Regions from separate parts of the Homo sapiens genome. Here regions 1, 2 and 3 are each linked to region 4. Evidence: promoter capture Hi-C in 16 types of primary human blood cells and fetal thymus (Javierre and others, 2016). All regions are on one chromosome and are shown on one strand. Each heading gives the region's core, a stretch centred on a gene start or on the middle of the fragment in contact. The rest is flanking DNA. Distances are from core to core; before and after follow the strand shown.

Region 1 (6,285 bases), core at 2,366-4,865, 160 kb before region 4:
AGCAATCAGGCGAAATTCAAGAGCAGGACTTTCACCCCCAGGAAGGAGGAGGAGGTGCAAGGGGAAATTCCTGTCATAGAAGAGCTGGGTTACCACACAATTTATTAAGGGCACAATTAAGTCACAAAGAGTAAGACACACAGGGATATAGTTACAGGATTAGTTCCCTAGCACAAGGCAGAAGCCTAATCATCAAAACTTGGACTCTGGATCAGAGCCAACCAGCATTAAGTGACCCAGTCTCATACCCCAAAAAACACAGGGCTAAGAATATGTGCTCCACAGCCTGAGAGGGAATCTACCATAGTAAATGCCTTTGAACTTGAATTTCATTCTCCTGCCACTAGCTGTATGATCAGACACAAGTCCCATAACTTTTGTGAGCCTTACTTTCCTCAAAGTCAGGAGAAAAATAAATATTTTACAGATTTGTTGCAAAAATATAAAAGTGCCGGCTATGGAGACTGCCATTTATTAATAGACTCCCTGTCCCCTACCAGAGCTTTTGAAATCTTTCTTGCCCAATAACTGGATTGACTCTAGTGACTTTGTGTCCAGAATTGGTGGGTTCTTGGTCTCACTGACTTCAAGAATGAAGCCGCGGACTCTCGCGGTGAGTGTTACAGCTCTTAAGTTGGCACGTCTGGAGTCTGTCCCTTCTGATGTTCAGATGTGTTCGGAGTTTTTTCCTTCTGGTGGGTTCGTGGTCTCGCTGGCTCAGGAGTGAAGCTGCAGACCTTTGCAGTGAGTGTTACAGCTCTTAAGGCAGCGCGTCTGGAGTTATTCATTCCTCCCGCTGGGCTCGTGGTCTCAAGAGTGAAGCTGCAGATCTTCGCGGTGAGTGTTACAGCTCATAAAAGCAGCGTGGACCCAAAGAGTGAGCAGTAGCAAGATTTATTGCAAAGTGCAAAAGAACAAAGCTTCCACACTGTGGAAGGGGACCCTAGCGGGTTGCCAATGCTGGCTAGGGCAGCCTGCTTTTATTCTCTTATCTGGCCCCACCCACAACCTGCTGATTGGTAGAGCCGAGTGGCCTGTTTTGTCAGGGCGCTGATTGGTGCATTTACAATCCCTGAGCTAGATACAAAGGTTCTCCACGTCCCCATCAGATTAGTTAGATACAGAGTTTCCACACACAGGTTCTCCAAGGCCCCACCAGAGCAGCTAGATACAGAGTGTCGATTGGTGCATTCACAAACCTTGAGCTAAACACAGGGTGCTGACTGGTGTGTTTACAAACCTTGAGCTAGATACAGAATGCCGATTGGTGTATTTACAATACTTGAGCTAGACATAAAGGTTCTCCACGTCCTCACCAGAGCAGCTAGATACAGAGTGTCGATTGGTGCACTCACAAACCTTGAGCTAAACACAGGGTGCTGATTGGTGTATTTACAATCCCTGAGCTAGATAATAAAGACTCTCCACGTCCCCACCAGACTCAGGAACCCAGCTGGCTTCACCTAGAGGATCCCGCACCGGGGCTGCAGCTGGAGCTGCCTGCCAGTCCGGCGCCGTGCGCTCGCATTCCTCAGCCCTTGGGTGGTCGATGGGACTGGGCGCCGTGGAGCAGGGGGTGGTGCTCGTCAGGGAGGCTCGGGCCGCACAGGAGCCCATGGAGGGGGTGGGAGGCTCAGGCATGGCGGGCTGCAGGTCCCAAGGCCTGCCCCGTGGGAAGGCAGCTAAGGCCCGGGGAGAAATCGAGCGCAGCGCCGGTGGGCCAGCACTGCTGGGGGACTCAGTACACCCTCTGCAGCCACTGGCCTGGGTGCTAAGTCCCCCATTGCCCGAGGCCGCAGGGCTGGCCAGCTGCTCCGAGTGCGGGGCCTGCCAACCCCACGCCCACCCGGAACTCCAGCTGGCCCGCAAGCGCGGCACGCAGCCCCGGTTCCCGCTCACGCCTCTCCCTCCACACCTCCCTGCAAGCTGAGGGAGTGGGCTCCGGCCTTGGACAGCCCAGAAAGGGGCTCCCACAGTGCAGGGGACTGAAGGGCTCCTCAAATGCCACCAAAGTGGGAGCCCAGGCAGGGGAGGTGCCGAGAGCAAGCGAGGGCTCTGAGGACTGCCAGCATGCTGTCACCTCTCAACTTGAGGAGACACTAGCCTTGTGGGTGGGATCCAGCCATTCTCCTGATGGCAGGGAAGAGCTTCAGAGGCTAGAAATCAGACATGTCTGGATCATAATCCTACCTTGTCTGTGGAGCATCAACTCTGCCCTATAGAAATTTCTGCATTATGTAGGCCTTCTTTGAACGTATATCATGGTGAGTAGTGCTTGACCTTGTACAGTGTTAGCAATCCCACTTTTGACATCTCTAAAGCAACCCTGTAGGTTTATGGCATTGCCACTTATAATTTTGCAAAGACATAACTTCCACTCAGGAGTTCTGCAAGCCTGGTTCCAGGTAGTAGGTTACTAGCCAAGTGAGTGAACCCAGCAAATAGGACCTCATATATAGTCCAACATAGTTTTGTTGTTATCAAGTTGCCGTTGCATGAATATTTTATGAGGGAATTATATGCTACTGTAGAATTTGTGGATTGGGAATTTTCTAAGATCTTTGGGTGAATTCCTTGAAAACGTCAATGGCTTATGATGTCATAACTTATTGATTTTCTAGTTGCAACTTGCTTCTTGGCCAGATTTGCCCATCTAAATTTCAAGCTTCTCTAGGAATGAGCCAAGTCACATCTTTCCCTTTGTTCCCCACAATTTAGCCCAAAGTTGCCCTCAAAGCAAGCATTTAACCTGCAGTTGCTGATTGATTGAATTACTGTATCTTGTTGTCATTTTATTTACTTTTTAGAATTCTAGATAATCATTTTCTCTAATTGTTCAGTTGCATCAAAAATAAAATATGACCGTTTCCCTAGCATAGTAAAAAGTGCAGTAAAACACAAAAGAGTTGGGTCTAGCATTAATTTTTTGACAAGAAAAACATGACAAACCATTTGCAGGGAAACTTCGGCTATACCTTATCCTCGTCACCAGTTGGCTTATGAATAATCAGGGTAATTTATATTACCTTGTTCTGTTTACTATATATATGTGTATTCCAATGGATTTTCCACTTGTCCCAATGATTTCCTGAAACGGAAAAACATTCAACTTCATTTACAAGGTAATGATTATCAGTGCCCAATCAAATCTCCCTGCTTCCAGATTTTTTAAAAAATGTTATTTATTTTGAGAAATGATGCCAGGACTTTAAGACTAATCATAGGTACAAATATACCTGTGTATTTCATGTGAAATACTCCTGCCATGACACACACACACACACACACACACACACACACACACACACTTAGCCCATTTGTTGAAAAGTGCCTGTAACCTTTTTATGTATAGGACTCCCTTGTCCAACTTATTGTTTTATCCTATGTAGTGCCCTTGAATTGAATTCTGCTTTTCAATAACACTGGCCCGCACACATAGCGCATTCTTACATCATTTCTGATGCCATTGCTCTAGTTGAAATCTTTATTGTTTAACACCTGTACTGATGCGATATACTCCAGAGGTGATTTTGGATCGGCCTCTTTCGCTTTCCAATCGTTCTGTGCATTTTGCTTTCTGGCTTGCAGCTCCATGGCACCTCTCATCTCCTTAGCACAAAACAAAAACACCCCTAGAATATGGCTCTGACCTTCCTGTCCAGACTTGCCTTCTACTATTTTCCCTTACCCTCCACAGTCTCTCCTGCTTAGCTATCTCTTGAATAGTGGCTATGCTTTCCTACTGCCGTAGCGTTGTTTTGCCAGTACTGCTTAGCATCTTCTCCCTTCCTGTGGAAAGAAAGAATTTTGTCACCTACAAAAGTCTTTGTATGCTGTAAGGCCGGGTCTCAAGGTAATTTACTTTGTAAACCCCTTTCCTGAGCCAATGACCTAAAATCTCACCCTCAGCTCTAAGTCAGAATCATATACTACCATCTTGTTTATCAAGTACTTACTATTGGCTGCCTTATTTTCTAGTTGTTTACACATGCAACTTTTTACTAGATTGCATGCACTTTGTGGGCAAGGCCTATCCCTGGCCTAACTTTGTATTTCCGTACTGTTTATGACAATGTCTTGCCAATGATATGTGCTCAGTAAATATTTGTTCACTGGTTGGATATCCTTTCATTATCTATACTATATTTTCAGCACAATGACAGGGTAGCAACAGAGGCATCTATTGCAGGAGGCCATACAAATTGTACCTCAGAAATTCATATAACCAGGAATTATAGTCTGAGCAATTACTTTAATAAGTTAGAATCTCTCTGTAATTATAGGTTACAGATGGTGACATAAAAACACTAGGAGGTCAGGAAGTTTCTTCCGCACTCAGCATACTTGAACTAAAAAGAGTGGACATTTCATAATTCTGAGCACCTTGGTCTATTGCTTGGTCTGTGCCTCGTGTTATTCTCAAGAAAGGAGACTGGATCTCAACCATCACTCATCCACACTTGTGTTATCTTTAAGCACTGTAGAGGAAAAAACTCTTTTGGAGTTTGAAGAATAAAGTTGGATACATTGCATAGTATATGCGGTTTTTAAGCTAACTTAAAGGGAAAGCTTCCTGAATGAAAATAAATCATATTAGTTTAATGATGGCTGCTATTAATAATGACATATATACCCATATATAGTATAGTGTAGTAAAAACTTTTCATCTGTTTTCTGGAAATCTTGATTTTCAACTCTTTCTAATGTATTTTTCTTTTGGGGGCCCACTCAGACCTTACAATATGTCTTCTAGAGGCACAGAGTGAAAAGCCTTGTTAGTCTGCTGATGTGCCTTCAGACCTTCTCCGGACTATTCCTTGACCAGAACCATCCCTTTTCTAGCTGGCTTTTCTGGTAGAGTCTATCCACACTCCTAGAACTGTCTACTGTTTGCTTGGCAAGGTCTACCTAGATCCTTCCTTGGCCTGCATCCTCCTGGGAGCTGTGGGGTCACCATGAGCCTTGTTACTTCTTTCTTTTCCCCCCTTCCCCAGCACACACCCACACATGCCATCATTCCACCGACTGGACTAATTTTATCAGAAACTAGACTTGTAAATTAACAGAGACATATATGATTTCACTTACAATTTGAAAAAAAAAGAACTTGATTAATAAGTGTCAGCATCACCATTCAGAGTATCTATAACTATCACAGCATAAAGTAGCTGGAAAAGAAGCACATATATAGAATCCAGTGGTTTTCAGATTCCAATTTATAAAATGGATAAAAGTGAACCTGGTTTAGTTAAAGAAGGGAGGGAAAGAGGACGCTGCCTCTTAGGCCTCATCCTGGTGGTGGCATGTGTGGCATGCCATCTGCACATAAGCCTATGAACCCCTAATCTGAGTTACATGAAACACTTTGCCTATGTGGAAACTGAGTCTGGAATGGTTAAGCGACTTGCTCACAGTCACATACCCAGTTTGTGGCAGAGCTGATTCTCAATCTCAAGTTACTAAGCACAGTTTCCTTTTTCTGGGCTTTTCCCACAGCACCAAATAACTGCTAGATAAAGCACTCTTTCCTGCTCATTGCGCTGGTCCAGTTTATCTCTGTGCCCAAGAGCAGTTTAGAAGAACTAGCATTTTCCATGCAAAAATCTTTGTTGAAGGAGATTCATGATTAACTGAAATCACCCAAAGTACCACAAACAATGCAACAAACCATGAAGGACAGCACAGCGTGTGTTTTTATCTGACCCATTTGTTCCAGGATGGGCTCTCTAGTTGAACAGCCTAACAGCCCTGCAACCAACCTGTCTCATAAGCCCTGCACAGAACAACCCAGCAGAATTCCTAAGCCTGCTCACATAAACAACCAGAGAAGTTAATCATAGGCATGAGAGACTTTTGGTGGTGGCCAATTAGAGCAGACCCCCCACAGAGCTTCATCATAGGGTAGCCACGTCAATGTCAATACCCTCCTCCGTGCAACAATCCTTGTGATTAATGTAATTACCATAATTACTGACCTCTCTTCTGAGAGTCTTGGCCACATGGAAGAGTTGAATGTTTTCCCTGAATGCGTTGTCTCCATACAATGTATGCCCTTAATTATAGAACATGATGTCATAAGTTCTGATTAGGGGGTTGCCCTAGAGGAGCTGAGGATTGGCCCCAAAGGCATAAGGGGGCCAGTTCAACTCATAGCCCACCCTAGTCCTCCCGGTCACATGCAGGTAGCCAGTTACTTGGTAATTAACAAAACAAGCTTGTGGTTGTTGCTGTCGTCCATTTTACTCCTATGTCTTTTGGGGCCTTCTTGGGAAATAAAGGCTTCCT
Region 2 (5,948 bases), core at 448-2,947, 140 kb before region 4:
CAAATTGTCAAGTACAGCTTGTTAATGTGTCTGTGTGAGTTTCAACATATCACCACTCAAGTGTTGGATTTGTCCTTGTGTGTAAGCCACAGCAATGTCCCTCCTTCCTTCTCCACTTTCCTCTTCAAGCACAAGTCTCTTGGCCTACAAGTTTCTTAGACTACAGACTCCCATGATGGAGGTTTTCCCCCTATATGACCTACAGCTTAGTATGGTATTTCTAGATGTTTGTATAAGAACCTGTTTAACTGATTTCAGAGTCTTTTCTCTCTTCCCATGTTTTTCCCCCAAATTACTTTTTACTTTGTATTTGAAATATTTTTATGAATTTTCTAAATTTTAAAGGACTCTTGAATGTTTACTTATATTCTGACATGTTGAAAATATATTCCATTATCATGTTTAATCCCAGGACTTATGATGCTGGAAGCACGGAATGATTTAATGCTTTGCCTAGTCTTACCTAGCAAGCCAGAAGAGACATAGGCTTAAGCCGGACCAGCTGATCGTCAGTCCTATGCACTGCCCCTGAGCTGATTAATAGTTCCTTTTATTACTGTTGAACATTTGGTTCTTCTAGGGGGCCTCTGGGTCAGTCACTACCACCATATTAGGCCACACTCTGACAAGTAGTTTTGTTCCTACAAAGAATCTAATTTCTTTCTCCAACGTGTGGCCTCCTAAGACCACTGTGCTCCGCTGGTGATGCTTGAGTTACTCAGGGAAAGAGGCAGATAGCCAAAAATTCACCAATTTTAGCAGAAAACCCTGCCATCAGCGACAGCTGGAGCATCACAAAATCTATAAACACACTTGTTACTCATCTGCTGTGCCTGTAGGACAAGCCAGGCATGTGACCACTGAACATCTTGTAGAGGAGAGGTTTCCTAGGCGGGTCTCCTGACAGAAACTGAGATGAGAAAAATCAAATGAGCTTGGCGTTCAGAACATTGTGTGTTATTAGTTGAGCCCTGTTTTGAAAGAGGAGACCTACCACCTAAATGTAATTTAAAGAATTGAGAGATGGAGTGACAATTGGGTTAGATGCATCAATATGAGCACTGTTAATTCAATATATGAACTGGGGAATCGCTGAGTTTGAGTACTAATTGGTTACAGAGGAATTTTCTTTAAAAACTCTTAAAAGGCTTTGTACCTAGCATTTTATCATCTAGAAAAAGGCAAAGTTTTGGTAAAATGCAATCCTAGTGACAGAGTAAATTTACATCACATAACCACAAGCTTGGTAGAAAGTGGCATGTTATTCCCATAAACATCTTGGACATCTAAAGTTAAAAATCGTAGGTGTTATAGAAAAAGATCTTTGTTTCTAGTTTTTGGGTATTTAATTTTTAAAATTTTGGCATTTGTTTTCTTATCCAAATGCCTGCCCATGCAAGAATTAGATTATCTGAATAGGAGATAAGATGTACTTAGACCCTTTGATTAAATTTTCTTGGATTTTAGGCATATAACCATAGATCCTTGTCTAATGAATATTTTTTATTTACTATTTTTCAAATCACAAACTAATGAAAGGACATACAAACAAACGTGCTCTCATAATTCAGTTCATTCTTTTAGACTCCTTGAATGTAAGAGCAAGGTACATATATTTTACTTCCAGTGCAATTCTCTATGGTATCTAAGTGCCATGAACACTCACCAGTGCTGTCTCATGATCTAATACCCATGATTATTTGAGCTATTGACTTAGGATGATCCCAGCCTGTAGGTCTCATTTGCAAAGTTCTTTAAACATATGCCTTTGTGATGAATCAAAGTCATTTCTTGAAAAAAACAGAGCTCTGACCAGATACTATGTTAGATATTTGATGGGAAATATATATTCCAACTTGGATATATATTGAGCTCCAAGCCCAATATATGTGATGATAGCAACTATTATTTACTATTTATTGTATACCTATCACTGTGATGGGTATCTTATATACATTATGTCTGTTATTCCTCTCAAAAACCCCATAAGATAGGCATATTATTTCCAATTTTACAAATGAGAAAAACCAAAGTTTGTTAATTAAATAACTTGCTCCAAGTTACACAGTTAGTAAGTGAAGGAGGAGTTATTTGAACTCAGGTTGTCTGATTCCACAGGCTTTGCATTCAGAGTGGCAGTATAATGTGTTTTGTAAGCTTCAGAGTCAAATTATAAGCTTTGACTCTGAAGCTAGATTACCCAGGTTTAAATCTTAGCTCTGCCCCTTAATAACCAATAACTTATGAGACCTGGGACAAATGACTACAAGGAAGTTTAAAATTGAACATGTGGCTTACATTTGAGGTCCATGTTGTATTTCTATTGGATAGTGCTAGGTCTGGACTTTTCCAAATGCTGTCTTTCATTCTTTATCTGTCCATGTATCTATTTATCTTATCTATCTATCTATCTATCTATCTATCTATCTATCTATCTATCATCTATCTAATTTTGCTTTTTTCTGTCTTGCCTCTTTTTATTTCTTTGCCCACATTGATGCTAAAGATGTCTTACTAAACACAATCCGATCCAGGCTCTTTTGTACTGAAAAGCTTTTGCTAGCTCCTATCACCTACAATGGAAAGCCTGAACTCCATTATGCGGCATACACAAACTTTTCATCCTCTCTCTACCTGTCCAGCCTCATCTCTCTCATGACTCTCTTCCTTGCACTTCACATCTTGGAAACACTAAGCTGTGCTTTGGTTCCCAGGTCATTTCACGCTTTTGCCTTTGCACTTGTTGTTCCCATTGCTTTGAAATCTCCTCCCCTTTCTGGTTGCAGTGACTGAAGTTTTACTCATCTCCCAAAATCTAACTCAGACATTGCCTCCTCTAGAAAGGTTTCCCAAAATGATCAGCCACCCCCTTCGTCCACCACTTTTGCAATGCTTCTGTTCTTTATGAATACTTTTATTACCTTTGCCAGATGTATAACTTGTTTTTCTGTCTGCCACCCCTACTAGCCTGAGTATACGGAGAATATAATTGTATATCATTTCCATATTGATAAAAAAGTGATTGAATAAACAAAACAATACCTTCTCTCAAGGAGAGAGATACACTTTTGTACAATAAAAATAAATATAACGCAAGATGTAAGATATGTCATAAGGCCAGGTGCTCACGCCCGTAATCCCAGCACTTTGGGAGGCCAGTGGGGGTGGATCATGAGGTCAGGAGATTGAGACTATCCTGGCTAACATGGTGAAACCCCATTTCTATTCAAAATACAAAAAATAAGCCAGGCGTGGTGGCACACGCCTGTAGTCCCAGTTACTCGGGAGGCTGAGGTAGGAGAATCGCTCGAACCTGGGAGGCAGAGGTTGCGGTGAGCTGAGATCGCGCCACTGCACTCCAGCCTGGGTGACAGAGTGAGACTCTGTCTCAAAAAAAAAAAAAAAAGTGTCATAAGACAGAGCAATCAATAAATGTCCATTTGCAAGCAGAAAAGAAGTCAATTAATTTTGACAAAAATTTAAAAGAAAAAAGGCCGGGCGCGGTGGCTCACGCCTGTAATCCCAGCACTTTGGGAGGCCGAGGCGGGCGGATCACGAGGTCAGGAGATCGAGACCATCCCGGCTAAAACGGTGAAACCCCGTCTGTACTAAAAATACAAAAAATTAGCAGGGCGTAGTGGCGGGCGCCTGTAGTCCCAGCTACTTGGGAGGCTGAGGCAGGAGAATGGCGTGAACCCGGGAGGCGGAGCTTGCAGTGAGCCGAGATCCCGCCACTGCACTCCAGCCTGGGCGACAGAGCGAGACTCCGTCTCAAAAAAAAAAAAAAAAAATTAAAAGAAAATGTAATGAGGTAGGGAAACATTGATTGACTGGCTGATATAAGATCTCTCAAGATGGCCTTACCTTTGTCAGTGTAGCATAGTCCCCAGCTGACTCTCAAATATGCAGATTCTAAACCAGTTTTGTCATTGTTCAAACAATATCTAGGGATACTATACTCATGCTACCTGAAGACACGGGACACTGAGGCTAAACTAGAATTCTAGTTTCTTGCTTCAGAGGGAGGGAAAAAACATATTGATAAGACTGAATACCTGCATCTTCTGGTCAGTGTGATAGTTTCCCTTAGGAACCAAATTTATTAGTAAAGCTAGATTTGTGAGTGTGAAATCAGAACAAAGTCTGTGAGTTGAAAGATTCAATAGTGGATGCCTGCTCTGCTCACCTCTGCAGTTGAATGCACCTGTTACTTGCACCAGGCAGAGCAAATCTTTAGTCTGGCTGCCTTCTTCTCTGGGCAGTACTTTTATGGGCACTGTTTGTCTATGACTCTTTTCTAATTTCTATTTCTAGACAACCCATTCAGAAAGACACATTCTTTCCTTAGACATGTTAATACCTCCCATTAGTCAGCTCTGTTCTGTGCTCAGTCCACTTATGAGGCAACTTTAAACATTTCTGTTCTCATAGGCAACCTGTTGATTTAGAGTTAACCCTCCAAGGCAAGCCCTGTTATCTTATTTCCAAGATCTTAGATGTCCCTGACTCCTGACAGTAAAATAGCTTTGGGGGAATTGAGGAGAAAGGAGAGGGGCGCTTCCTGGAGAAGACAGTGTTAGGATTCTGACGGGGGTGGTAAGGATGGGAGACTAGGACTTGGTTAACTGCACTGCTTGATAACCGCATTTTTCAAAAAGTATGTGTCAGTTATTTGAGGAAAATTACAAGGCCTTGAATTATGTAAATATATTTTTAATATGCACACTTCACTGGCTTGGTCATATTCTAAATTTTGCAGCCTTTTTGCTGTTTGAAAGTATGAATTTAAGAGAGCGCTCAAGGATGAAGCATTATTTGTATTGCTAGGACTGCTAAGCAGTGAAACACACTTTAAGGGCAAAGTTTCCTTTCTGGTGAACAAACAAAAGAGAATTATATTATCGTGTAATATCATGTAATATCGTGTGTATTTTAGGTATTTTCTATGTGTCTGATGATGAGAAAATTAATCATGAAAACTTTAAAAAATTGTAATTCTTGCTTCTTAGGAGCCAGAGAATTTCAGTAAACCAGAGTTAAAACAGGCAAGTTTACATGTCTATTAGTTGCTATCCTGTTTTAAATGAGTATTAATATCTTAGTGCCTGGTTCAAAAGTTACATCTCACAGAGAAAGTCACCTTAGAGTGTGACTCAAGATCACTGAGGTCTGTGCTAGTTTCAGCTGTGTCAGTTGCTGTGCAACCTTTAACAGGGATCTTAACTTCTCTGGATCTCAGTTGTTCTGTCTGTGAAAAATAGAGGGTAGGTGTTTTAATGTTTTCAATCTTTCACAACTCTGCAACTTTGTGAGTCTGTGAAGTATTATTCCAATAAATGGATCAAAGTTTGAGATTAACTCTTCTTCCTCTCCATCCCTCCTCCCCACTCCCTCCCTCCCTCTCTCTCTTACTCTGTTTTTGTTTTTGTTTTTGTTTTGTTTTTTCTTTCTAACTTGTACTAGAATGTGCAGAGCACAGGAGGTCCTTTAAACGTCAGCAGAGCTGGACACTTGTTGACCGTGTGATCTTGGGCAAGCCATGTAACATCTCAAAGATTTAGTTTTGTCTTCTGGAAAATGGATTTAACAGCCTTTACCTCTCAGGGTTATTGTGAGGATTAGAGATAATGTATGTAAAGTGAAATGTTTAGCTGTTATTATTACTCATTTACCATGATGGATAAGTTTTTTTGTTTTTCGAGACAGGGTCTCACTCTGTCACCCCAGGCTGGAGTGCAGTGGCACCACCATGGCTCACCGCAGTCTCCACCTCCCAGGATCAGGTGATCCTCTCACCTCAGCCTCCCAAATAGCTCAGACTACAGGCACGTGCCACTGTGCCCAGCTAATTTTTTTTTAATTTTTTGTAGAGACGGGGTTTCATCATGTTGTCCAGGCTGGTCTCAAGCTCCTGGGTTCAAACGATCCTCCTGCTTCAGCCTCCCAAA
Region 3 (6,143 bases), core at 853-3,352, 130 kb after region 4:
TGGAAATTGACAGAAGGGTTCCTTGGAATTTTTGGCTAAATTGTGATTTGTGCATGTGAGGGGTGAACCCACACAAGTTTGGGGTTAGTTGGGAAAGATGGGAAGCATCACTGGAAAACAAAAGGTAAAACAATTCTCAAAAATCATACAAGGTTAGTAATAGTTTGTATCCCCACCATAAAGAGTGGAGAGATGATATAACATGTAGGCATTAGCTGGAACCTTCAGAAAAGTATTACCTTGATAATGGGGCTAAGTTATTCCTAGGCTGAAGGTTGCTCTGGACCTGATATTAAAAAGCTTAAAACAAGGCCGGGCTGGTCACGGGGGCTCATGCCTATAATCCCAGCACTTTGGGAGGCCAAAGTGGGCAGATCACGAGGTCAAGAGATCAAGAGCATCCTGCCCAACATGGTGAAACCCCGTCTCTTCTAAAAATACAAAATTTAGCATAGTGGCACCCACCTGTAGTCCCAGCTACTCAGGAGGCTGAGGCAGGAGAATTGCTTGAACCTAGGAGGCAGAGGTTGCAGTGAGCCGAGATCGCGCCACTGCACTTCAGCCTGGTGACAGAGTGAGACTCCGTCTCAAAACAAACAAACAAAAAAAGCTTAAAGTCTTGAAAGTTCAAAGCTAATCCCACTTTTAAAATAACAGAACAAAATTCAATACCCAAGACTACAAAGTTCAATGAAATTCAATATGCCACTTCAAAATAGCATTCAATAAAAAATTACCAAATATTCAAAGAACCTGAAGAAAAATTAATAAAAACAGACCAGAAATGACTGAGATGGGACTATCAGGGGAGGATAGTAAAACTACTATTTATATATAGGGATTTCTTAGATAACATTTAATAAGCATGAACCATAAAAATAGCTGGTAAATTAGACTTCATTGAAAGTTAAAATTTTTGTTCTTCAGTAAGATACTATTAGGAGAATAAAATGACAAACCGTATACTGAGAGAAAATATTTGTGAAGCATTTATCTAATAAAGACTGTATCCAGAATATTGAAAGAACTCTTAAAATCCAATTAAAAAATCAGCAAAAAATGTTGACAGTTCACCAATGAATATACATGAATGGCCCTTGAAATGATATTCAGTACATCATTAGCCACAATGGAAATACAAATTTAATTCATAATGAGATTCTAGTACTCATCTGTTGTAATGGCCAAAATTAAAAAGACCAGTAGTTGGTGAGGATAGGAACAGCTGGATCTCTCACACAAGGTTGATGGAACCACAAAATTGAACATTCACTTTCAAAACTGTCAGTTTCTTATAAATTTAAACATATATTTTCCATATAACCCAGCAAATCCACTCCTGTGAAAATGTAAGTCCATGTAAAACGTGTACTTGAATGTTCATGGTAGTTTTCATAATGCCCAAACTAGAAATGACTCAAATGTCAGCAATTGGTGAATGGATGAACAAATTGTGGTATAGCTATACAGTGGAATATAATACTCAGCAAGAAGGACTGAACTATTGAACTGACACATGCAATAATGTGAAAAAATCTCAGAAGCATTATGCTAAGAAGTGAGATATAAATGACTACATGCTATGATTCCATTTATATGAAATTCTAGAAGGAAAAACAAAGGTGTGGAGGGTAGATCACTCATTTCCAGGGACTGCAAAATGGGGTACAAGGTAAGATTTTGGGGTGAGGATTACACAATTGTATTGTCAAAACTCAATGACTTGTACACTGTAACTAGATAATTTTACTTCATATAGTACAACTCAATAAAGCTATTAAAATTTTTTGGTATTTATATTTAAAATCAGCACTTTGCTTGAATTACTTAGTACTTTGATGTAGGAGTTTATTAAGTTTCATCTTGAGTTGATGTGTAACAACATTTGCAGCTTCTACTTTGCTTTTACATAGTTTAAATTGTTCAAAATTTGGAGGAAGAACTGGCTGTATTAATCACCCTGTGAAGTTTTTTATTTTATATTCACATTGACTCCTCAAAGCCTGGCCAACATGGTGAAACTCTGTCTCTACTAAAAATACCAAAATTAGCCAGGTGTGGTGGCACATGCCTGTAATCCCAGCTACTCAGGAGATGGAGTCATGAGAATCCCCTGAACCTGGGAGGTGGAGGTTGCAGTGAGCCGAGACCGTGCCACTGAACTCCAGCCTGGGCGACTGTGAGACCTTTTCTCAAAACAACAACAACAACAACAACAACAACAAAACAAATGGACTCCTCAAGTCTCTTGGAATCCCCAGTGAGGAGGGTAAACAGCTGAATATGTGTAGTTCAAAAAAGCTCATCAGAATTGTTCTTAAAAGTCCCCTTGCCTGCAAAAATATTCTAGAATGCTTTGTGGTGTTTTTGTTTGGTTGGTTTTGTTTTGCTTTTAAATCAATTTTATAGAGGTATAGTGCACAAACATTAAAATACACCCATTTTAAGTGTACAGTTGGAGTTTTGATAAATGTATTTACCTATGTAACTACCATAATCAGTACACAGAACATGTTCATCTGCTAGAAAAATTCTGTCAGGCTTCTTTGTTGTCATACTCCCCACACCACCCCAGGATGAGGAAATCACTGGTCTCATTATAGATTAGTTTCACTCATTCTACAATTTTATATAAATGGTCTCTTACAGTATGTACTACTGTGTATCTGCCTCCCTTCCTTTAGCATAATGTCTTTAAGATTCATTCATGTTGTTTGGATTCACACTTTATTTTTATTGTGTGTTTTATGGCTGTACAACAATTTATCCGTTTACCTGTTGAAGTATGAGTAATCTGTGAACATATTTTTTTCCGTTGCTGTTAGATAATACCTTGAAGTGGGATTTCTGGGTTGTGTGGTAAGTGTCTGTTTAACTTTACAAGAAACTGTCAAATTGATTTCCAAAGTGGTTATACCAATTTGCATTTTATGAGAGCAATGTATGAGAGTTCCTGTTGTTCCACATTCTCAGCAGCACTTCGTGTTGGTATTCTTTTTAATGTTAGCCCTTCTCGTGTATGTATAATATTATCTCACTGTGGTTTTCATTTGCATTTCCCTTGTCATTGGTAATATTTTGAGCATCTTTTCATGTGCTTGTTTGACCATTCTTACATCTTTCTTTTGGTGAAATGTCCAATTTTTTGCCAGTATTTCGCATTGGATTATCTTCTTATTAATGTGTTGTAGGAATTCTTTATTCTGCATACCAGTCCTTTATTAGCTGTATGTTGCTTATTTTTTTTCAATTTCTTAATGGTGTCTTTCCAAGAGCAAAAGTTATTAATTAATTTAGATTAAGTCCATTTTAAAAATATTTTTCTTCTATGGTTTGGTATGCTAAGAAATCTGCCCTTCCCCAAGGTTGCAAAGATTTTCTCTTTTGTTTTCTTCTGTAAGTTTTAGTTTTTGTGTGAGCCATTCTGAGTTCATTTTTTTGTTGTTGTTTTATATGAAGTCAGGTTAAAGTTATTTTTCTCATGGTAAAAGTTCTTTTTCTCCAGTTGTAGCACCATTTGTTGAGCTGACTCTTATATTTCTCCATTGAATTGTCTTGAAGTCTTTGTCAAATGTCAGTCAACCACATATTTGGAAAGCTTTTTAAAATTTAATCACCTTGAAGTTTATAATCTTTGCCCGTCAAATTTTTAAAAGATAATGTTTAAAATATTTTTATTTAGACTAGTTACTAAATACAGTTAATTATATGATACATACTTGAACTACTAGCAGCTGCATATCTAAATTTTTTAAAAATATAAAGTAACTCAGAGTCTGTCTTTTCATGTAACACATTGATTACAAGGTTTTGTTTTGTCTTTATTCATTGTGTTTTTTTAAAAGATTGGAACTAGATGGAAAGATGTTGTCTCCAAATGCATTCGATGCCACTTTCAGCCACTACTTTTGTTTTATGCAAACCCAGATGGCACAGCAGTTTCTACTGAGGATGCACTCAGGCAGGTCATCAGCTGGTCACATTACAAATCTGTTGCAGAAAATATGGGTAATTCTTTCTTTTAAAAATTCTCAATGTTTTTCTATTATCACAGTCAACTAGGAATACTAGTACTCTGAATATAAAATGAATATAGAGGATAATTTCAAATTTGACTTTCAGTAGAGCTGAGGAAATTTTAGTAATTTTTGTTAGTATTTTGGAATGAACCTTTTCTCATCGGTGGCCTCAGAAGCACCTTCAGGAGTTACCCACTATTATGGTCACACAATCACAGAAGAGGCTTCATTAGTAGCTCTTTCTAGAAGTACATTTTAAGTGATTTAGTAAACTGGAAAAGTCCGAAACAGCTAGGTCATTTTTGGATGCATTATAAAGCAATTCAAAATTCTTAAATGATGTCAATCCGCTTAAGTTTTAAGTAACTTTTTTTACAGTTAAAAATAATCTGGGCCGGGCGCGGTGGCTCACGCCTGTAATCCCAATGCTTTGGGAGGCCGAGGCGGGTGGATCATGAGGTCAGGAGATCGAGACCATCCTGGCTAACAAGGTGAAACCCCGTCTCTACTAAAAATACAAAAAATTGGCCGGGCGCGGTGGCGGGCGCCTGTAGTCCCAGCTACTCGGGAGGCTGAGGCAGCAGAATGGCGTGAACCCGGGAGGCGGAGCTTGCAGTGAGCCGAGATTGCGCCACTGCAGTCCGCAGTCCGGCCTGGGCGACAGAGCGAGACTCCGTCTCAAAAAAAAAAAAAAAAAAAATCTGAAAAAAATGATTCAAACATCTCTTCTCATGGGAAGGAAAGGAATGATACATTTTTGCTTCTCTTTTTAAGGATGTGAAAAGCCTGTAATTCATAAGTCAGATAATTTAAAAGAAAATGGATTTGGTGATCAGGCAAAGCAGAGAGAAAATCAGAAATTTCCAACTGATAATATTTCATCATCTAATCGGAGCCACAGTCACACAGGTGTAGGGAAAGGACCAGGTATGTGTTTAAATTGTCATTTTTACATAGTTCCAAGTGAGTGTCCTCCTTTCTTCACTTATCGGAGGATGCTTACCTAGCTTTCCTTGGCTGTGAAAAGATAATAACAAATAGATAACAAAATTCGTCTTTTGATTTATGCATTTCTCTGAGAGCTGTAGTTTTACCTGACCAGTTTGATTCCATGAGTTGTTTGAGTTTCTTCATGCACTCAGACTGTGGTAGGCCTGAGGCAATCTGGACAGTTACCAAATAAAGCAATAATGTGGCATTTCATTCAAGGAGTTAATTATCAGCTTGGAGCAGAAAAACATGAGTTAGTAATTTGGCATAAATGCCAAAATTAAATTTACTGGTAGTGAATGCAACAGCAGTTCAAAGTTACTATTGCTGTAGTTTGTTCTTAACCTCGTTTTTATTCAACTCTGTCTTGTTACTGTTATCCCATAACTAATTTTTACAAGCCAGGTTCTGTAACTTGGGTCCAGAATGAAACCTCACAATACTGTGTACCATTACAGTTTAGAAATACATCTAACTCTTGTGTGGATGTTCAGGATGATTTTGTTAGCAACCTTTAAACATATTAATGAAATAATGTGTAATCATAAAAGTAACTCATTTAATCAAGGGTAGTAAGATTGAGAATTAACAGTTATCCACAAAAAACTAAAATAAAGGCTTTTTAAAAATTCTTAATGAAGCTGTATCTCTTTTCCTTTCACAGATTATTGATACTCTTAGATTCAGACATTTTATGTTTTTCAAAAGACACCTAGTTTTAAGCCCAGAAATAGTATATATGTGTGTAAGAATAGAAGCATTGGAACAAGACAACTTGGGTTCATATTCCTGGTTCTAGACTTACAAACTTTGTGAACTTGGGCAAATTTCTAATTTCTCTCTGCCTCAGTTTCCTTACCCAAAATAGAGACAGTAATTGTACCTCAAAGAAGTAAATGAGTAAGACAACTGGCAAATAGTGACCATTCAGTTACCTTTAGCTCTTATTATTTTAATGGCAGATCTCTTTCTTTTTTTATACTTGTTTTAGGGGCTATACAAGGAGTTTTAAAATACAACATGCATCTCCAGTGTCAAGAAAAATCACATCTAGTTTTTAATCATAAAAATACCATTGTATACTATATATCTACATATCTATGCTCTTTTTAAATATATCTTAACATTTTTATA
Region 4 (6,754 bases), core at 1,587-4,086:
TGTTGAGGACACCATTTCAACCTTTAGAACTGTATGTAACATAAAGTTGGAAACATATGAAGATGATCAAATAGGAAAACCAGAACTCTCTTAATCTTTGGTTTTTTTAACTGAATAATGCAGTTGATTACTCTAAAATTCTAAATCCTACCATATTGCAGAAATAATAATAGCAAAAGGAAAAAAATCATTTATTAAATTTTTACTAAGTATAAGGAATTTCTAAATTGTCCCATGTAAAATGTCCATGACTTTATGTGATAGATACTGTAATCACCATTTTACAGATGAGAAAACAGAGTTTAAAAGACTTGTCTAATAGCATACTATGGTAAAGGCTACAGCCAGGAACATACGGGCACTCAAGGGATTTTGAGAGGGAATTTAAATTTATTTGCTTTGGCAAAATTGTTTCTCATTTGATACCTAATTATACTTTCAATGCAAATGGTTTGTTTAGAAACAATTGCAATAGGTTAGCTAGATTAGCTTAAACCTGCTATCTACAACCTTTAGCTTTCTCTTTTTTTTTTTTTTTAAACAAGGTCTGGTCTTGCCCGGGCTGGAGTGCGGTGGCTTGATCATGGATTACTGCAAACTCTACCTCCTGGACTCAAGCAATCTTCCCACCCCAGCCTTTGGAGTAGCTGAGATTATAGGTGCATGCCACTCACCTGGCTAATTTTTGGGTTTTTTGTTTTTGTTTTTGCTTTTTTGGTAGAGGCAGAGTTTTGCTAGCTGGCCTAGGCTGGTCTCAAACTCCTGGGCTCAAGCGATCCACCCACCTTGGCCTCCCAAAGTGCTGTGATTTACAACCTTAAACTTTCAATCCTATGATCAGGCACCAAAATGTATAACCGATTTCAATCTTATAAAATACAATTCCTCCCACAAATAGCCACCACCTTTGTACATTCAAGCGACTGTTCATTTGAATTCCAAACTCATGCCAAACCTTTAATGCATTCTGCAGTTAATCTCCAACCTACTCATTTATTCATTCATTCAATGAATATTGAGTGCTTACCATATGCCAGATACAATTCCAACTGCTGAAGATACAAAGCCCAAGCCATTATAGGATTCATAGTTTAGTAGAAAAAAGAGATATCACATAAATAGATGCAACCTCTACCTCCTGGACTCAAGCAATCTTCCCACCCCAGCCTTCAGAGTAGCTGGGATTACAGGTGCTAGTAAAACTGTTGAGGACGCCATTTCAACCTTTAGAATTGTACATAACATAAACTTTTGCTAGATAGATAGATAGATAGATAGATAGATAGATAGATAGATAGATAGATAGATAGAATAATGTTGGCATGTTCTTAGTGAAAAAACTGAGTTGTCACTCAGCAACAATTATTTCTTTGTTAGTAAGTTATGTATGAATTTTAATTGGGCTCATGACCACCTAGAATAGAAGCTACACTTCCCAACCTTTCTTGAGTTATGTACGGCTATATGGCTAAGTTCTGCCCAATGGGATGTAAACAGAAGTATGAACAAAATATCAGACATGTTCTGAAAAGAAGACAGTGTTCCCTTCTCATTTTTTTTTCTTTTTCCTGCTGGTTGAAATATATGCATGCTGACTGGAGCTGGGGCAGCCAATTAGGCCCAAGGGGTCTGCATTTTAGGGATAGTGGAGCAAAAAGTTAGAGGGTAACTGAGCCCTTGATAATTATGTCAGTCATGCAAACCCTCAATTACTTACTTCTAGACTAAGCTTACCTGTGAGAGAAACATCTTCCATCTTTTTACAGTTCTGTTTTGGGGGGGTTTCTGTCACTCCCATTTGACTTTTATCTTAACTAATAGAAAAATATAAAGAAAATGAAGCAGAGTAAGGGACTAGAGAGTGGCACAGTGTGATATTTTAGACAAGGTGATAAGGGAAGGATTTTATGAGGGATTGTTATCTGAGCAGAGTCCTGAATGCATGACTGTGCCATGTGAGTAGAGGGAAAGTATGGAAGGGGGAAATAGTAAAAGGAATACAGTATCTATTTTCATTTTGGAAACCAAAATTAACATAATGATTATCTGTTGAGGACACCATTTCAACCAGGGAAAGGGGGAAATAGTAAAAGGAAAGGGGGAAACAGTAAAAGGAAAAGCCCAGAGATGAGAGCACGTTTTTGTGTCCAGGGACCATCAAGGAGGCCAAACCTTTTGACAGGCAAACCTTTCAAATCTTGTCAGGCCTGCAAATGAAAATCCTTGACCCTAGACATTGTAAAGACTGGTCAACTTTGCAGGGACTGGTCTCTGTAGGCCCTTCAAAAAGCATGACCCAGTTATGAGTCTCAGCTTTTACCCAGCTTCATGGCTTATCCTCTAATGGTTCATTTCAAAATGCTTCCTGAGTTCACTATTCAAATACTACATACTTTTCTCAACCTAGCATGAGTTCTCACTACAGCTTAAGAACTGGCTCTATTGATCCACCCCACATTACTTCCTTTCTTCTTGAGTCTACATAGATATTACTGCCTATATTGTTCATTTTAATTATGAAAAATCTATCATTCTGTTCTGATTCATGCATGTGTCTCTTGCCACCTCAATTAACATGTAACATAAGAGCTAGATGTTTAAAAGTGTTTAAAATCCCTTTTGGCTACTATCTGTTCAACAGAAAGTGCTCACTAAAAACTTTCTGCATGTCCAATGAACGTTTCATTTAACCATCTCACAAACTAGAAACACAATGGAGAGAGCCTAATCTTTCCCTGTTCCTCCCTTTCGCCAGGAAGATATGAGTAGCTAAAGTATTTGGTGCTATATATAGCCAGTTGATGTCAGCTGAATGCCAGTCTCTTCAGAAAAGCTCAGTCCCCAGTTTGAGTCAGAGTAGGGACCATGCTGTCCCAGGTTCAAGGATAAAAACCATCAGGCCCAAGTGCCATCCATAGTCCATCTCCAGAGTCTTCCTCCACAAACTGGGATTCATCCCCGCTGAAAAAGCACAATCTAACAGCAAGGTGAGTATGTTGTTTCCTAAAATGTTTCATTAGTCAGTTGTCCAAGGATATTCAGAGTTGTGACTCATAAATGGGCATTCTCTGCTTTAAAGGGCAGCTGTTGCCAATATTAAAATGCTACCACCAAAGAATTCTGGTTTAGTCTAGTGTCTTCTTCATTCTTACAGTTTGCTGGAATTGATGGAGTGTGATGCTGGTACAAATGAAGGCCAGTGAGGAGACAATGACAGACTAAAATACTGTGGAGAAAAGAGAGGGAGGGGAAAGGAGACCAGCAATTTCATTGTTTCTCACTGCCTGATGATCATTGTATTAATGTCCAGACTGGGTCTCTGTTCACTGTGACATTGCCTGTCAATGAATAACATACTCTGTCACCAGATAAGGAATGCGTATTGAAGTCTTTCAGTAGCAAGCGATAATAACTTTTTAATAAAGAACAAAGATGTTGTCTTTCAAAACAGTGATTATAAGACACTCCAAATGAGTTCTTCACATTGCCTCAATAATGTCCCTTTGTTTTTAACAGGGAACAAAAAAACCATGCTATCACATAATACTATGATGAAGCAGAGAAAACAGCAAGCAACAGCCATCATGAAGGAAGTCCATGGAAATGGTATCAATAAAAATCCTTCGTAGCATTAATATAGCACAGCATGAATGTGGCTCCATCCTGACGTTGTTTAATATTCCATAGTTTACTTCCTTTAGATTCTTGCTGTTCTGTCATAACAAACCTGGAGCTCTAGGGGGTGTAGAAAAGCCTATGGTAACTAATCCTTTTGTAGTCATCCTTTCTCATTTGGAAGCTATTTTCAGAGGAACAACTGCTGTAAAAGGCATGAAGCAATCTGACAGCTGATGTACATTCTGCTTGGCTTGCCTTCCACATTATAAGTTAAGATCACTCTCGATTCTTTTTTTTTTCTGGACAAGTCTCATACAATCTTGTCTTTATTGTCCATCCCACATGGTTTAGCTTGATTTCTTTTACCTTACATTATATAAATCACTCAAAATAAGTTCTATCATCTTTTTTATCAAGCTATTAAGTTGGAATTCATATTTATTGCTTATTATTTAACTCCATTTCTATTGCTTATTTATTTAACCCTTCATATTTGTTAATTGATTTACTAACATATTTTGTGTGCAAAGTCTACTTTTATTTGTAACTTCTGAGAAAATATAAAGTTATTGTAGTCTCAAAGCATATGACTCAAAAAAATTTTAATATATATTACGTGCAAGGTAATATTTCACTCTCTCCTTTTCTTTAAATTCTAGCAACTAACTTGAGAAAGCAATGCTTTATAACTTGCATTTTGATTCTTATAAAGGAAATTCAACTTTGTTTATAAGCAACGTATAGCATCAGTTTTAAATGTTAAGAAAAATATTCAGGTCCTCTTAGGAGCTGATTTGAGCCATTCCAGATATATTAGTGGCATTTTCAGAATGCCTCCTTATTTCCCCTGTATTGACAAGGAATGCAGCCTTTCACCACTACAATATTGAGACCTAGAAGCTTGAGACCCGGGAAGAGTATTGAGCATAATGTTTTCATATTACACCTTCCATAAAGCAAGAGGAACAGAATCAAAGACTTTTAGATGCTCCCCACGCAATGTAATCATAACTAAGAGGTCCGTTGTTGTTTTCTATTTTCTGCAATACAGAACCACTGTACTGGATTCAACTTGGTTCTCATGTTTTACTGTAATGTCAAATTAGCTTGGAATAAAATGAGAATAATTCTGAGTCAGATACCAGAACTGAATTCATACCAATCCAAAGTTCCAAAATTCATGCCTTATTTAAAATTTCATGCATCTTTGTGTTTCCAGATTCAAGTAGTTTACTTGAAATTATTTTTTAGCTTTTCTGATCAATGTGGCAAAAATCAGATGATCACTGGAGTTTGTGACAAAATTGTTTACCTTAAAATAGACCTTTCATGTTATTATTTTCTAATGACATCCTAATCATAAAACAGTCAGTCCATTTAATGTATTCTAGCCTAAATCATGTGTTGGAATCTACTGTTAGCTCTGACATAGATCTATAAGGGTAAGAAGTTTTTTTTCCTTTTTTTTATAAACATAACTATTGTTTTTATAAAAAATATGTGGGAGAAAACACACAATTATATATCAAAGTGGGGGAAACCCTCAAAACCACTATCTCACCACCAGTAAATCCTAGCCACGTAAAGTCAGCTGAAGCCCTCCCTCCCATGTCACTGGATGAGTACCAGCTCCCTTAAGAGGAGTCACATGCTCTGTCTTTGTTGGAATGTCAAGTATTTCAGATAACATGGGGATAATCAGACTCTTTCCAAGCTCATCCCAGATGAAATAACTTCAGTACTTTATGAAACCGCTCAAATATTTTTCTTCTCTTATTTCCTCTGACATTTTATATGGAACTTTACTATTTGTGTATAGCATGATGTTTAGAGATCTGGAGCTAGGGGAGTATAATTTTTTCTCAGGATGCATAATAAAATGGACTTCAGAGAAACTTTTTTGGGAATGATCCTCCAAACTTTCAAACATTTTACAGGAGTAAAAATCTGGATAATTTAAGATAAAACATGCAACTGCTTTGATCTTAATTGTAAGACTAAATAAATCAAATTTTGCCTGGATTGTCCTTTATAAAGATAAATTGAAAAGGATGTTCCAGTCGAAATCCCCTTCTCCTGCCTTCTCTCCTTTCCCCTTGTGCATCAGAATTTTTTTTCAGCCTCATAACTCATTTAATTTTTATTACTACTTACCAAAACATTTAGCTTGGAGGAGTATAAAATGTGACAATGAGTTGGCTAAATCACTTGTTGTCCTCTTAACATGAGGTGGAAATTCAATCCCATTCTTGTAGGGGAAAGAGATTGCAGCCGGTGAGTCTTTGAGATAAATCACTAGAAAAATATAAGAACCAGAAATGGGGAGTTTTACATCAGAGCCCTCATTCCATCAGGAGTGATAACCTCAAAGAATTATTAAAAAATTCTCTTCATATAGATTATAATGCTAACTGCATAGAATGAGTGAGAGGTGGATAACTCCCAGCCTCCACTAATCACAACCCCAAATTGTTGCTCATTTTGAATCCATTGTGATTTGGTTTCAAATTATGTACTAGAAGCAAATATACTACACTCCCAACAATTGACTAATAAAAAGCATCCCAAACATGCAGGCTGCCTGCTTTTAGATTTACCTTCCTCATTATATCATAGTTATGATTACCATCATCATCACCTTGGCCGGAAGCAGAGCTAATGGTAAAGCTGTCCTGGTTACTCTTGTGAGACAAACCTCTGTGCTTTATATAAAAGTATCTCAGCCACAGTTGTTACCATCTAACAAGTGCTATTGTAAAAGACAAAAGATAATTTGCCATTATCTATGCATGAATTAGTTGTGGAGACAAGAAAAGATGGCCTCTGATAGTCCCCACCCATGAGCCTTGTGCAATTTACCCCTAAATCTGTACATATTTTCCAGTATTAATCATATTTTTCTCTTGTTCAGTATCTCATGTGAAACTTGAAGACTGAATGAAGAGAGAGAGGTAGGAAAGGATAAAAGGATAGGAAGTATTAAACTGATAAAGAGATGGGGCAATCAGAATGAAATAAGGAGAGGCACTCTAGAGAAACTGGCATCTGTTTAGAAATGCTGGGGGAAAGGAATTGGAATTTTAAAAACCATAAGAAGAACTGGGAGTATGATGTTCCCTGACTTTAAGCATGGATA

Evidence for each region. Contacts are between HindIII fragments. The CHiCAGO score rates a contact against its expected background, and 5 or more counts as called.
Region 1: a contact is called between a fragment that was not itself captured here and the fragment with the promoter of MYOZ2 in region 4, in 1 of 17 cell types (monocytes). The highest score is 6.3, in monocytes.
Region 2: a contact is called between a fragment that was not itself captured here and the fragment with the promoter of MYOZ2 in region 4, in 1 of 17 cell types (monocytes). The highest score is 5.3, in monocytes.
Region 3: a fragment that was not itself captured here is called in contact with the fragment with the promoter of MYOZ2 in region 4 in 3 of 17 cell types (M1 macrophages, non-activated CD4 T cells and M2 macrophages); the score reaches 6.0 in M1 macrophages.

What each region holds. Positions count from the first base shown.
Region 1 is chr4:118,975,525-118,981,809 of GRCh38, forward strand. All of the region lies in intron 1 of SYNPO2 (synaptopodin 2), which reads left to right. It overlaps SYNPO2-AS1 (SYNPO2 antisense RNA 1), which reads right to left. Exons shown (of 3, transcript XR_939120.3): 2 at 3,027-3,088. Among named protein-coding and RNA genes, the nearest start is that of SYNPO2-AS1, 6.1 kb to the right of the region's middle. The HindIII fragment of the contact is 1,904 bases long and covers 2,664-4,567 here.
Region 2 is chr4:118,993,467-118,999,414 of GRCh38, forward strand. All of the region lies in intron 1 of SYNPO2 (synaptopodin 2), which reads left to right. Among named protein-coding and RNA genes, the nearest start is that of SYNPO2-AS1, 12 kb to the left of the region's middle. The HindIII fragment of the contact is 915 bases long and covers 1,241-2,155 here.
Region 3 is chr4:119,263,475-119,269,617 of GRCh38, forward strand. It overlaps USP53 (ubiquitin specific peptidase 53), which reads left to right. Exons shown (of 19, transcript NM_001371395.1): 13 at 3,846-4,008; 14 at 4,794-4,946. Among named protein-coding and RNA genes, the nearest start is that of ARLN, 34 kb to the right of the region's middle. The HindIII fragment of the contact is 2,988 bases long and covers 609-3,596 here.
Region 4 is chr4:119,132,996-119,139,749 of GRCh38, forward strand. MYOZ2 (myozenin 2) reads left to right here and starts at 2,837. Exons shown (of 6, transcript NM_016599.5): 1 at 2,837-2,987; 2 at 3,517-3,606. The coding sequence starts at 3,531. LOC102723967 (a long non-coding RNA gene) reads left to right here. Exons shown (of 3, transcript XR_001741422.1): 3 at 1-559. The HindIII fragment of the contact is 2,789 bases long and covers 1,728-4,516 here.